Linked DNA regions of Homo sapiens: region 2 is linked to region 1. Evidence: promoter capture Hi-C in human tissues and cell types (Jung and others, 2019). All regions are on one chromosome and are shown on one strand. Each heading gives the region's core, a stretch centred on a gene start or on the middle of the fragment in contact. The rest is flanking DNA. Distances are from core to core; before and after follow the strand shown.

Evidence for each region. The method cuts DNA at HindIII sites, captures the fragments that hold promoters and counts their contacts. A contact is called where the count stands out against the background at its distance.
Region 2: a fragment that was not itself captured here is called in contact with the fragment with the promoter of CNDP1 in region 1 in 1 of the 25 tissues and cell types used here (heart left ventricle).

Annotation. Positions count from the first base shown.
Region 1 is chr18:74,532,171-74,538,100 of GRCh38, forward strand. CNDP1 (carnosine dipeptidase 1) reads left to right here and starts at 2,330. Exons shown (of 12, transcript NM_032649.6): 1 at 2,330-2,521. The coding sequence starts at 2,498. The HindIII fragment of the contact is 24,351 bases long and covers 1-5,930 here.
Region 2 is chr18:74,349,028-74,354,957 of GRCh38, forward strand. It overlaps C18orf63 (chromosome 18 open reading frame 63), which reads left to right. Exons shown (of 14, transcript NM_001174123.2): 12 at 4,219-5,241; 13 at 5,430-5,519. The coding sequence ends at 5,486. Among named protein-coding and RNA genes, the nearest start is that of C18orf63, 36 kb to the left of the region's middle. RefSeq lists an enhancer at 1-97. The HindIII fragment of the contact is 6,259 bases long and covers 1-5,761 here.

The sequences.
Region 1 (5,930 bases), core at 1,080-3,579:
AGTAATAGAATCAAATGTCTTCTTTTGTAATCAACTAACAAAACATTTTTTAAATTTGTATTGATTTATTTTTAATTTTTATAAAGATGGGGACTCACTCTGTTGCCCAGGCTGGTCTCCAACTCCTGACAAGGAATCCTCCTGCCTCAGCCTCCCAAAGTGCTGGGATTCTAACAAAATATTTGAGCCAGCTCTGTTTTCCTCTTTTCTAGAAAAAAAATTATTGTGAGGAACACTCATATCTCACATATTTTCTGCAAGGAAAGAGTAAAGTGCATTTGACAGAGGCTGAGAAAGAGGAATTCTCTGATCTGAATTACATGGGCTTTTGAAGCCCTGGGCTCGCCCGTGCGCTATGCTCTTGCCAGAGGTGACTTTGGCTGGGTAGGGGCAAGGTTTTCCACTGATGACTGCAGGCAGCAGGGCCCCCACCCTCCTAGGATCACAGCCCACACCTGGGCCCAGCCTCACCCTCTCCTTCCTTTCCAGCCCTCGGAATTCTGAGTATGATCCCAGCAACTTGGCCTTCGGAAGAAGGGCCAGGCCCACTTCCTGGGAGCTGCTGTGCTGGGCCTGGAGCTCAAGGAGCCCGGCCTGGCAAGTGTCAGGGAAAGGGTGTGAGGATGGGGAGGAGGTGCAGAGACGCAGCTGGTGGAGACGCTGCCCCTCTGCAAGGGAGAGGGGCCCGGCCCTGATAGCCACAGCTAGCCTTAACTAGCAGGGATAATGAGTTCCAACTCTGCCTTTCCAGAGATTTCTTTGTTGGTAAAAATTATTTGATTATTTGTCCTTTCATTCAGCAAACAGTTAGAGTAAGTCTCCAGTGTGCCAATCCCTGCAAGAGTTATTCAGAGAGAAATGATGCAAAAGAATCCCAGTCCCCCAGAAAAGCCCCGGGACCCCTCAACCCAAGGCTCTGGCCTGTGCCCTGCTGCCTCCTTTTCTCTACTGTCCCCTGACCTTCCCACCAAAATTTATATGTTGACATCCTAACCCCCAAGACCTCAGAATGTGACCTTCTATGGAGATAGGGTCATTGCAGATTGAATTACTTATCTTTAGATAAGGTCACATGGGCATAGGATGGACCCCTGATTACACACAACTGTGTCCTTATGAGAAGGGACAATCTGGACACACACACATACACAGGGAGAACATCATAAGAAGATGAGGGCAGAGATCGGGTGATGCTTGTACAAGACAAGGGACACCAAGGACGGCCAGCAGCCACGCGGGTCAAGGCCTGGAGCACGCCCTTCCCGCTCAGCCTCAGGAGAAACCTGCCCTGCCCATACCTTCATCTCAGACTTCCAGTCTCCAGAATTGAGACCGATTTCTGTTGCTTAAGCCACCCAGTGTAGGGTACTTTTGTTAGAGCAGATGTTGGGGCTCAGAAGCCAATACCCCAAAATATGGTGCTTTGTTCAAGCTGAACTGAAAAGGAACTTCAAGGCCTCTCGGCTCCCCCACCCCCACCATCTCTCCCAGAGTTCCTGAAGTGTCCTTATCTCCTTCAAGTCTGACCCACCAAAGAAGAAAGGAATGACCTCTAGTCCCTTCCCTGAGTTTTCGTTAACTGAACCCATATCTCAGGAAGGAAGGCTGACACCGAACACGCTGGACAGACTTGTCAAGACCATTGTCTGCTCCGGGGCCCAGCAGACTTGAACGAAGACCGTGGCGTGCTCTTCAAGCCCACTGAATCCTCCCTCGTGAGCGCTGATTGCCCTCAGCTGAAGTCCTCTTTTCTCCTCCCATAACCTGTTGCGCGAGAATCTAAGCCGCCACTCCTTGTGGAACCTCAAGAGGGTGTCTCAGCTTCCCAACCCCATTAGGGATTGGTCCTTCCTTCTGAAGGCTCCCATGTCACTTAAAACTAGGAGCAAATCAATCTGTTATGCCTCTTCTCCAATTCAACTGCCCTTTGCAAGCTGATTTTGCAGCGAACCTTCAGAGAGCTGGGAAAACTCTACCCTCGGCCCCTGCACAGCCCTAGGAAGCTAATCCTCGGCCGTAACATTCCATCACAAGGGCCCACAGCCACAGTGTGTGGGGGCCTGTCATGTGAGGGGGCTGTCACCTGAGGGGGCTGTGCCGCTGGCTCAGCTCTGCCTGCTGGCCGGGGCCCTACTCCCTCTCAGAGATGACACACAAGTGCCCCCAAAGAAGAACCCGAGGAGTCGCAGGCTGGGCCAGGCTGCTGGCTTCCAGTGACATCACATGACTTTGGGGCCACTGCCTCATCCCGTATCTGCGCGTATGAGATGCATTGTCTCTTCCTCTGCAGTTGAGCTGAATGAATACCTCCGAAGCCGCTTTGTTCTCCAGATGTGAATAGCTCCACTATACCAGCCTCGTCTTCCTTCCGGGGGACAACGTGGGTCAGGGCACAGAGAGATATTTAATGTCACCCTCTTGGGGCTTTCATGGGACTCCCTCTGCCACATTTTTTGGAGGTTGGGAAAGTTGCTAGAGGCTTCAGAACTCCAGCCTAATGGATCCCAAACTCGGGAGAATGGTGAGTAGGACCTCCTCCATCAGAGTCCGTGCATTGGGTGCCAGAATTCCATTTGTCCCGGGAGCATGTGCGTTAAGCCCAGTTGGGCAGGGCAGGCACCCAGCGTGGCCCCAGATGCTGCTCCTCATGGTGTTCTTAGGTGCTGTCTTGGCCGAGGAATGTGGTATTTGGAATTATATTTTATCAGTAATGCTTTTGGGTAGTTGTGTGTTCTTAACAATAATTAAATGGCATTATTGTCAAGTAGTTCATATTCAAATTGTTCATGAACTCAGTCTTCTTAAATCAATTTTTTTCTGTACTTTTTCTCTTTAAAAAAAATGAGTTTGCTTCCTGGAAGAATTTGCCTAAATAATGGTAACAGACAGTGTGCTGTTTGTCCTGGTCCCAGGTTCCCGACTTAAGGGCTAGTTTGCAAGAGCTAATCACCGGGCTAAATCACCCCAGGCCTTTCTCGGCGAGGTTTCCATGGTTCAGGTGCAAACCTGAGTGTGGGTGTGGCGGGAAGGCTTCTCTCTAGGAAAACAAGCAGGCAGGTACCTTTGGCTGTGAGGTTTTGTGGGGTTGTGTTCCAGACTACTTGGAAAGATAAAATTCATGGACGCTTTTTATTTCCATTGCAAACACACACATACACACACAGAAATTTTCAGAATTTTGTGGAAGGTTGATACGTAGAAGACTCTCAAAAGACATACTGAAACAAATACATGCAAATGCGAGGCTGGAGACACAGTGAGCAGGCAGGTGGTGACCTGACCACAGCCGGATTCTAGAAGTGGGCTTTGCCCACCTGCAAGACCATGAGATTCCCACACCATGCTGCAAAATCACTGCTCTGAGAGAAAGAACCTCACCCTGTGGTCTGGCCATGCTTTCCATTGCTGACTTTTTTTTTTTTTTAAAGAACCCATGACTGGCCAGGGCATTGGGGTGGGGGTTAGAAGAGGACATTTCACTGAATACTGTCTTACTTTAAAAAATCTTTAAACTGTGTCATGATAGTATCTATTCAAAACATTAAAGTTAAAAGCAACATGAAAGAAAATAATTTCCCTGGCTGGGCATGGTGGCTTATGTCTGCAATCCCAACACTTTAGGAGGCCAAAGCAGGAGGATCACCTGAGCCCAGGAGTTCAAGACTGGCCTGGGCAACATAGTGAGACCCTGACTCTACAAACAATTTTAAAAGTAGCCAGGCAGGGTGGAGCATGCCTGTGGTCTCAGCTACTCAGGAGACCAAGGTGGGAGGATGGCTTGAACCTGGGAGGTCGAGGCTGCAGTGAGCCATGGTTGCGCCACTGCACTCCAGCCTGGGAGGCAGAGTAAGACCCTGTCTGAAACAAAAAAGAAGGAAATATTTTGTTTTGGACTCAATATAATACCCTTTGATATGAAAGAGAGGAAGAGATTGTACTATATATTTTCCCCTTTGCTATTCTTTTACTTTTTTTTAACTTTTATTTTTGGTTTAGCAGTACATGTGCAGGTTTCTTACATAGGTAAATTTGTGTCATGGTGATTTGTTGTACAGATTATTTAATCACCCAGGTATTAAGCCTAGTACTCATTAGTTATTTTTGCTGATCCTCTCCCTCCTCCCGTCCTCCACCCATAGGCCCCAGTGTGTGTTGTTCTCCTCTATGTGTCCATGTGTTCTCATCATTTAGCTCCCACTTACAAATGAGAACATGCAGTGTCTGGTTTTCTGTTCCTGCATTAGTTTGCTAAGGATGATGGCCTCCAGCTCCATCCATATTCCTGCAAAGGACATGATCTCATTCTTTTTTATGGCTGCATAGTATTCACCATGGTGTAGATGTACCACATTTTCTTTACCCAGTCTGTCATTGATGGACATTTAGGTTGATTCCATGTCTTTGCTATTGTGAATAGTGCTGCAGTTAACATTCACATTCATGTGTCTTTATAGTAGAATGATTTATATTCCTCTGAGCATATAACCCAGTAATGGGATTATTGGGTCAAACGGTAGTTCTGTTTTTAGCTGTTTGAGGAATTGCCACACTGCTTTCCACAATAATTGAACTAATTTACACTCCTACCAACAACGTATAAGTTTTCCCTTTTCTCTGCAACCTCACTTGCATCTGTTATTTTTTGACTTTTTAATACAGTTGTTTGATGTGAGATGGTATCTCATTGTGGTTTTGATTTGCATTTCTCTAATGATCAGTGATACTGAGCTTTTTTTCATATGCTTGTTGGCCACATGTATATCTTCTTTTGAAAAGTGTCTGTTCATGTCCTTTGCCCAGTTTTTAATGGGATTGTTTGTTTTTTCTTGTAAATTTGTTGAAGTTCCTCGATACTGGATATTAGATCTTGGTCAGATGCATAGTTTGCAAATATTTTCTCCTATTCTGTAGGTTGTCCGTTTACTCTGTTGATAGTTTCTTTTACTGTGCAGAAGCTCTTAAGTTTAATTAGATTCTATTTGTCAATTTTTGCTTTTGTTGCAATTGCTTTTGGTGTCTCTGTCATGAAATCTTTGCCTGTTCCTATGTCCAGGATGGTATTGCCTAGGTTGTCTTCCAGGGTTTTTAGAGTCTGGGGTTTTATGTTTAAGTCCTTAATCCATCTTGAGTTGATTTTTGTATATGATGTAAGGAAGGGGTCCAGTTTCAATCTTCTGCATATGGCTAATGGCTAGCCAGTTATCCGAGCATCATTTATTGAATAGGGAGTCCTTTTCCATTGCTTGTTTTTGTCGCTATTGCTGACTTATTACCATCACCTTTTTCTAATACTGAGAGAGAAAAGAAAGTCATCAATTCTATTCTTGGGATCTTGAGCCCAAGATTGGGCAAACTCTTTCTTTTACTGTGACACAGATCAAATGCCCATCAACAGCTAGGGTGGATCCCTGGCTGTGGCCCAGGGGGACTGGATGAGGTTTGGGGAGCTGGACCACAGGATGCAGAGGGGGCTCTGTGCTGTGGGCACTCACCCTTTGGATGGGGCACATGCAGTGAGCATGTGTGATGTGCCTCCTCTGTGCTCTAGTGCCCAGGCCCAGTCACTCCGGGCAAAGAGTGGTACCTGGGATATGGACTCTGGGACCAGGAAGCTCCTCTGGGGGGAATGAACCAGGTCATATATCACTACACTTTGTCCACACTCCTTGTTTCTTTCCACATAAAGCGGCATTCTTGTTAAAACCATAGAGTAGAACTTCTAGCTGCTGAAGACAAAAGACAAAGTACAATTTAGACGAAGGTGAGAAGTTACCCATCCATGTACAATTTACTGCCTTTTTCACTAAATCCCATACTCAGGTTTTTGTTTTGTTTTGTTTTCTCTCAAACTTTAGTGTGAGCAGTTTTAGGGTAGAGGCCCAGGAATCTGCACTTTCAAGCCATCATTCAGTGGCTTTTAGTATATTCAC
Region 2 (5,930 bases), core at 1,382-3,881, 180 kb before region 1:
AGTTTTATGTTCGAATACAAATAACTTATATGAATCTGCCTATGAGTTTTCTTTTATCTCAAGTAGTAGATATGTTGTTTAAATGTTACTACAGTTTATAGAACCCAAGGGTCCAAACAGTGGGTGTTCTTTGCTTTTCTATAATTCATTTTAATTCTTTAACTTTTTTTCATGAAACGGAAAAAAATTCAATCTGGACACTTCAAAGTGACTCAGTCCCTTATGACAAAACATCTCTTTAAGGTAGAAATGTTCTTCAATCCAATTTAGGAACCCTTCTTCTCACGATAGCATCTGTGCAGAGAAACCTTGCATAGGATGAGGGCAGTGGTATGTGGTGAAGTGCACTGGTATGTTTGCCTAGTATGCTCTATAGCAGGGGTCCCCAACCCCCCAGGTCATGGACCTACCAGTCCATGGCTTGTTAGGAACCAGGCCACACAGGAGGAGGTGAGTAGCAGGAGAGCGAGCGAGCATTACCGCCTGAGCTCTGCCTCCTGTCAGATCAGCAGCAGCATTAGATTCTTGTAGGAGCACGAACCCTATTGTGAACTGCGTACACGAGGGATCTAGGTTGCATGCTCCTTATGAGAATCGAATGCCTGATGATCTGAGATGGAACAGTTTCATTTCAAAACCATCCCCCCCACCACCCCGGTCCATGGAAAAATTGTCTTCCACAAAACTGGTCCCTGGTGACAAAATGATTGAGGACTACTCCTCTATAGCAAGAGAATGGTGCCCTACATTCTGCTCCCCTACACTTAAGCTGCTAACTCTGTAACTGAAAATCAAAGGCATTCATAGTTAAGCGTTTCTGCAAAAACAGAAGTGTGGCTAGACCTTACTTCTACTTCCAAATATTTTATGAGTGCATCTGATTGGCTGGTTCTAAATCACATCCAAACCCTAGCTGCAAAAGATGAAATATAAATTTTAGATTTCCAGGCTTTAGTCTGTATAGGAGCACAAGGAGGAGGGTGGAATGGAGGTTGAACACCAGTCCATCCTATCCATTGCAGTCACAGCATAGAGATTGGCTGTGGGGTGTGGGGGTAGGAGGCCTTCACACCTTCACTTCTTGACCTGGGTTGATTTAATGGTGGTGGTCTCTGCTCATATGGTATCTCAACAGAGATAGTATATGAGGTTTTATCAGTTACTTTTTAGCTTTACCCTAGCTCCCTTGTACAGGGAGTCTTCAGAAAAACAGCTCCCTCCTCTCTCTGTTCTCTCCAGAAGTGTATATCCAACCCTGTTACAGGTTGAATTGTGTACCCCTCAGATACATACACTGAAATCCTAACCCCCAGTTCCTTAGGATGTGACCTTATTTGACATAGGGTCACTGCAGATATAGTTAGTTAAAATGAAGTTATACTGTAGTAGGGTGGGCCCTTAATCCAATATGACTAGTGTTCTTATGAAAAGGGGCAATTGGATACAGACACACATAGAGGAAGAACACCATGTGAAGGTGGAGATGGTCATCTACAAGCCGAGGAAACAGGCCCGGAACAGATCCTTTCCTCCTGGCCCTCTGAAGGAACCAGCCCTGCCAACACCTTGGTTTCAGACTTCAAGGCTCTAAAACTGAGATAATATGTTTCTGTTCTAATACAAACCCCTTCTTGATGCATGCTTTTTCACTCAGCTGAGCAATGTCAAGGGGCAGTAAGCCAGTAATTCTTCCTTGGTTAACTTCTGTATTTCTTCATTCAGGGTCATGAAACTTAGCTGGGTTTTCTTTGCACCCCTTGAAAATAATGGGCAAATTAAGAAGGATGTGCTATGCTCTGAATGTGTTTCTCCAAAATTTAAATGTTGAAACCCTAACTCCCAAGGTGATGATATTAGGAGGTAGGGTCTTTGGGAGGTGATTAGGTCATAGGGGTAGAGCTGTGCTAAACAGGATTAGTGCTCTTATTTAAAAGGCCCAAGAGAGATTTGCCTTGATCTTGGACTTCCCAGCCTCCAAAACTGTTGCTTATAAACTACCTACTTTGTTATAGCAGCCAAAAGAAACTAAGACGGTGTGTCTTCTTGCCCTGGTGGCATGGGTAAGCCTCCAACTGAAGTAATCTCCAGATAAGAAATGAATCCCAATCACCTATTTTCAGCATCGCCCCCAAATCTCACTCAATATTTTCTTGGGGACTTTCCGTTTTTCCCAAGAATAGTCAACATGGAAGGAGGAGTATTGTCCTCTATAATGACTTTCTATTATGTCAACTTAAGTATTATGGAACTAAGTTTCCTGGAATTTCCTTCTCCACATCATTTTGGTCATGGGACAATACTCCTCCCATTGAGGTATGGGTCTCGTTCTCTTGAGTCTGGATGTCCCTATGACAGAGTGATGCAACATACCCTGAGGCTAGGTCTTTAGGAGAAACAGCTTCCACCTGGTCTTTCTGGGGACATTTGTTCTTGGAACCCAATCTGTGAGAGATCCCCAGCACAGGAAGAGACTGCCTGTCAGCATTCCAGCCAACAGCCAGCATCACGCATCACATGTGAAAGAGGAAGTGACTCCAAGGTGACTCCAGCTGCAGAGTATCTAACCACACAGCATGAGAGATGCCAAACTAAGCCAAGCCAACCCCCAGAATAGTGAGAGATGATAACATAATTATTATTGGTTTTAAGCAACTAAATGTTGGTGTGATTTGTTTATGCCTAATAGATAATTGGATTAGTCTCTTACTTGTGCCTATTTCCAACTCTGATTTCCCAAAATCTTTCCTATTCTCTTCTCAACCTAATTCAACAATGGAACCTCCAGTAGTGGAGAGAAAAACCAGTCATTCAAGTTTGCATATTATTCCTAGCAGTTTTAAAATGTTTATTTCAAGCTGTGAACCTGTGTTTTGATGGGGAAAGTGAGAAAAGAACTTGGTGTTCAGTGTTTCAGGTTATTGCTACCTATCACTCTTTTACAGACAACAGGACAAGATATGTACTTTAAAAGACAATACTTCCACCAAGAGATGAGTGGATAAAATATGCTATATAAGTACAGTGGAATAGTCAGTCATTAAAAGGAATAAATCCTGACTCATGTTGCAATATAAATGAACCCTGAAAACATTATGCTAAATGAAATAAGCCAGACACAAAAAGACAAATATTGTATGATTCCACTTACATGTGGTACCTAGAATGGGCAAATTCATAGAATAGAAAGTAAAATAGAGGTTACCAGGGGCTAGAAGGAAGAGGAAACAGGAAATTACTATTTACAGAGTACAAAGTTTCTGTTTGGAATGAAAAAAAATTTTTGGAAATAGTATTGATGGTTATATAATACAGTACAGTGGTAAATGTACTTAAAGTCACTGAATCGTTCACTTAAAAATGGTTAAAATGGTAAATTTTATATTATTTATGTGTATGTGTGTGTGTATCCACAGTTCATCTTTAAAAGACTGTAAACGCTTGGCTCTTTTTAATGTATCTGACAAATTTCTTTGACAAATACTTGCTGAATTGCTACCACGTACCAGGCACTGTGGTAGGCAGTGAAAAAGTAAACATGATTAAGACACAGATAGCGCCTTCCCTGTAGTCAAAATCCCACTTATTCCTAAAGGCCCAGTATAGATGCAGCCACCTCTTCATTAATTTCTTTCAACAAGGATTTTTAGTAACTGTGAAGGATATAAGAGTAAATAAGTCATGGTTCTTACCCTCCAAGAATCTGGTACCTACTTAGGAAGATGGAATATGTGCACTAAAAGATAAGAGAGCTTACCTTGTAATATTTTTTTGTGACAAATATTATTTAATTGATAGCAGATCCTTGGAGAGTTGACAGAAAAACAGTCGCTCTGTGGTAGATTGATGGGTGGGAGAAGGTGGGACTTTGAGTATCTGAAGGAGGTCATACCTTGCTCAGTGAGCAAGGCAGCAGCATGAGCATGTTTGGAGGACAGTGGGTAGCTGTGTGAATGGTTTTTATGGTAGATTTATATGAAATGTAGTATATACCTTTATCTTAAGATAGTATCTTGGATAGTATCTAAAGGAGGATACAAACCATAAGAAATGTACTCATTTCCACCAGAAGGCTCATTTTTATTTTGTTTTTCTTTACCTGTTCTGTAAATCATAGTGTTGCTTTATATTCTTATTTGGATGATACTTTATATTTTATTTCTTTTCCATTAAGGACATTATTAACATTTTAAATTTTTTTTTAATCTCTATCCTTTTCAGGAACACAAAGTCAAGCCACCCAATTTGACCACTAAAAAAATGCTTAGGGCATCTCTGACTCAAGCCACTTCCAGAAAGCCTGCCTGTGCTCAAAGTCTTCTACCATGTTCAGTAGCAGTGGACCACAAGGTGGAGCTTTCAGTCAGCCAGCCAACATCAGGCATTTTCTCAGCTTTGCATCTCCAGCCAGAGTCTGTTCAGGGTAGAAAGAAATCCCTGTCTATCAGGGCTCCACAAGTACATTCAGAAGTATTAATGCCCAACAGAGGAAATACTCAAGTTCAGCACACAAATCTTAGCTCCCAAAGCAACATCACCCCTAAGTTTGTACCAGTTTTCAAAAATAGATTGTTACAAATGAACAAAAATACCTCAGTACTTGGCAGCCCAAAAAGAAAACAGCATGATGTGACACAATCTAAATTGTTTTCACTCAAAACTAGTATGATCCAGCATGACAAACTGAATTTAGGTCCAGCTATAAAAAACCGTTATAGTAGTAACATTCAGATGCAGGCTGCTAACAATTTAAATCAGGAGAATTCCAGACCTCTGCAAGAAAAAAATACAGAGTCTTCTGAAAATATGACAAAATTTCCCTCTTCTCGTGGAAAATCGACTGTGAGTTTAAACAAAAATAAGCAACTATCTAATAGTGCAGTATTTGTGGTGTCAAATAACAATTTAGGGGTGGTAAAAAGTGCTGTTGACTTCCAAATGAAAGGAAAAGAAAATTTAACAGGCAAAGGTATAACACAAATTTTAGGGAAAAGCCATGGGTCACTAAAACTGAAAAGACAGCCACACATTTTTGAATCAGATGGAGAAACCGAAGATCCACGACTGCTACAGCAGCAATCAGAAAATCAAGCTAAAGAAGTTGGTACAAGTGACCACAGGTTGATAGTAAGCAAAATAGCCCACAGGTCTAAAAGAAAATTATGTCCAGAGTCTTCCAAAACTTCAAAGAAGCATCATTCCGATACTGTGCACTATGGCCAATCCAGTTCTTCTAAGAAGCAGGTAAAAAAAAAATTAATCTGGCACTACTTATCATATGCTAGACCCTTAAAACCCCTAAATAAGGATTTAAATGATTTCCCTAAGATCATTTAGAACCATACTAATTAATAAACAGAATATCTACCCTAGAGCGACTGTAAGTCTATGCAGTTAATTTGTAACAAATGTGATTCTTCAATCTAATACAGATACTTGACTCGGATAAATCAAAACTTAAGAAATCTCTCATCATTCATAATGCTTAGAACATGGACCTGAAAGAAGGAAATGTCTACCAGGTAACTGAAGTGATAGCTTTTGATTTGTTTTTACATTATCTGAATTGGGATTGCCAAGTTTAGGGGTCCCCAACCTCTTGGTAAAAAGCAGCTACTTTTAAATTCTTTGAAACCGTAAAATCAGCAAAGAAATAGGACATGGTGGGAACAGTTCACTCCTTGAATAAGGACCATACACAGCAGCTGTTTTGTAATGATTTCAAAGAGGGATGGGTGCAAATGGTCCACTGTGGGCTCCCCCTCACTCTGTTCTGGGGATCCTTGCAGACTAGGAAGAGCTCACACAGCAGCAGCAGACTATCTAAAAATAGAAGATTTGAACAGCTACTACAATATCCACTTTTTGGGATACCTACCCAAGATAATAAACCTTAAATGATGTTTCAAAGGTTAATCATTTAGTTAAAATTT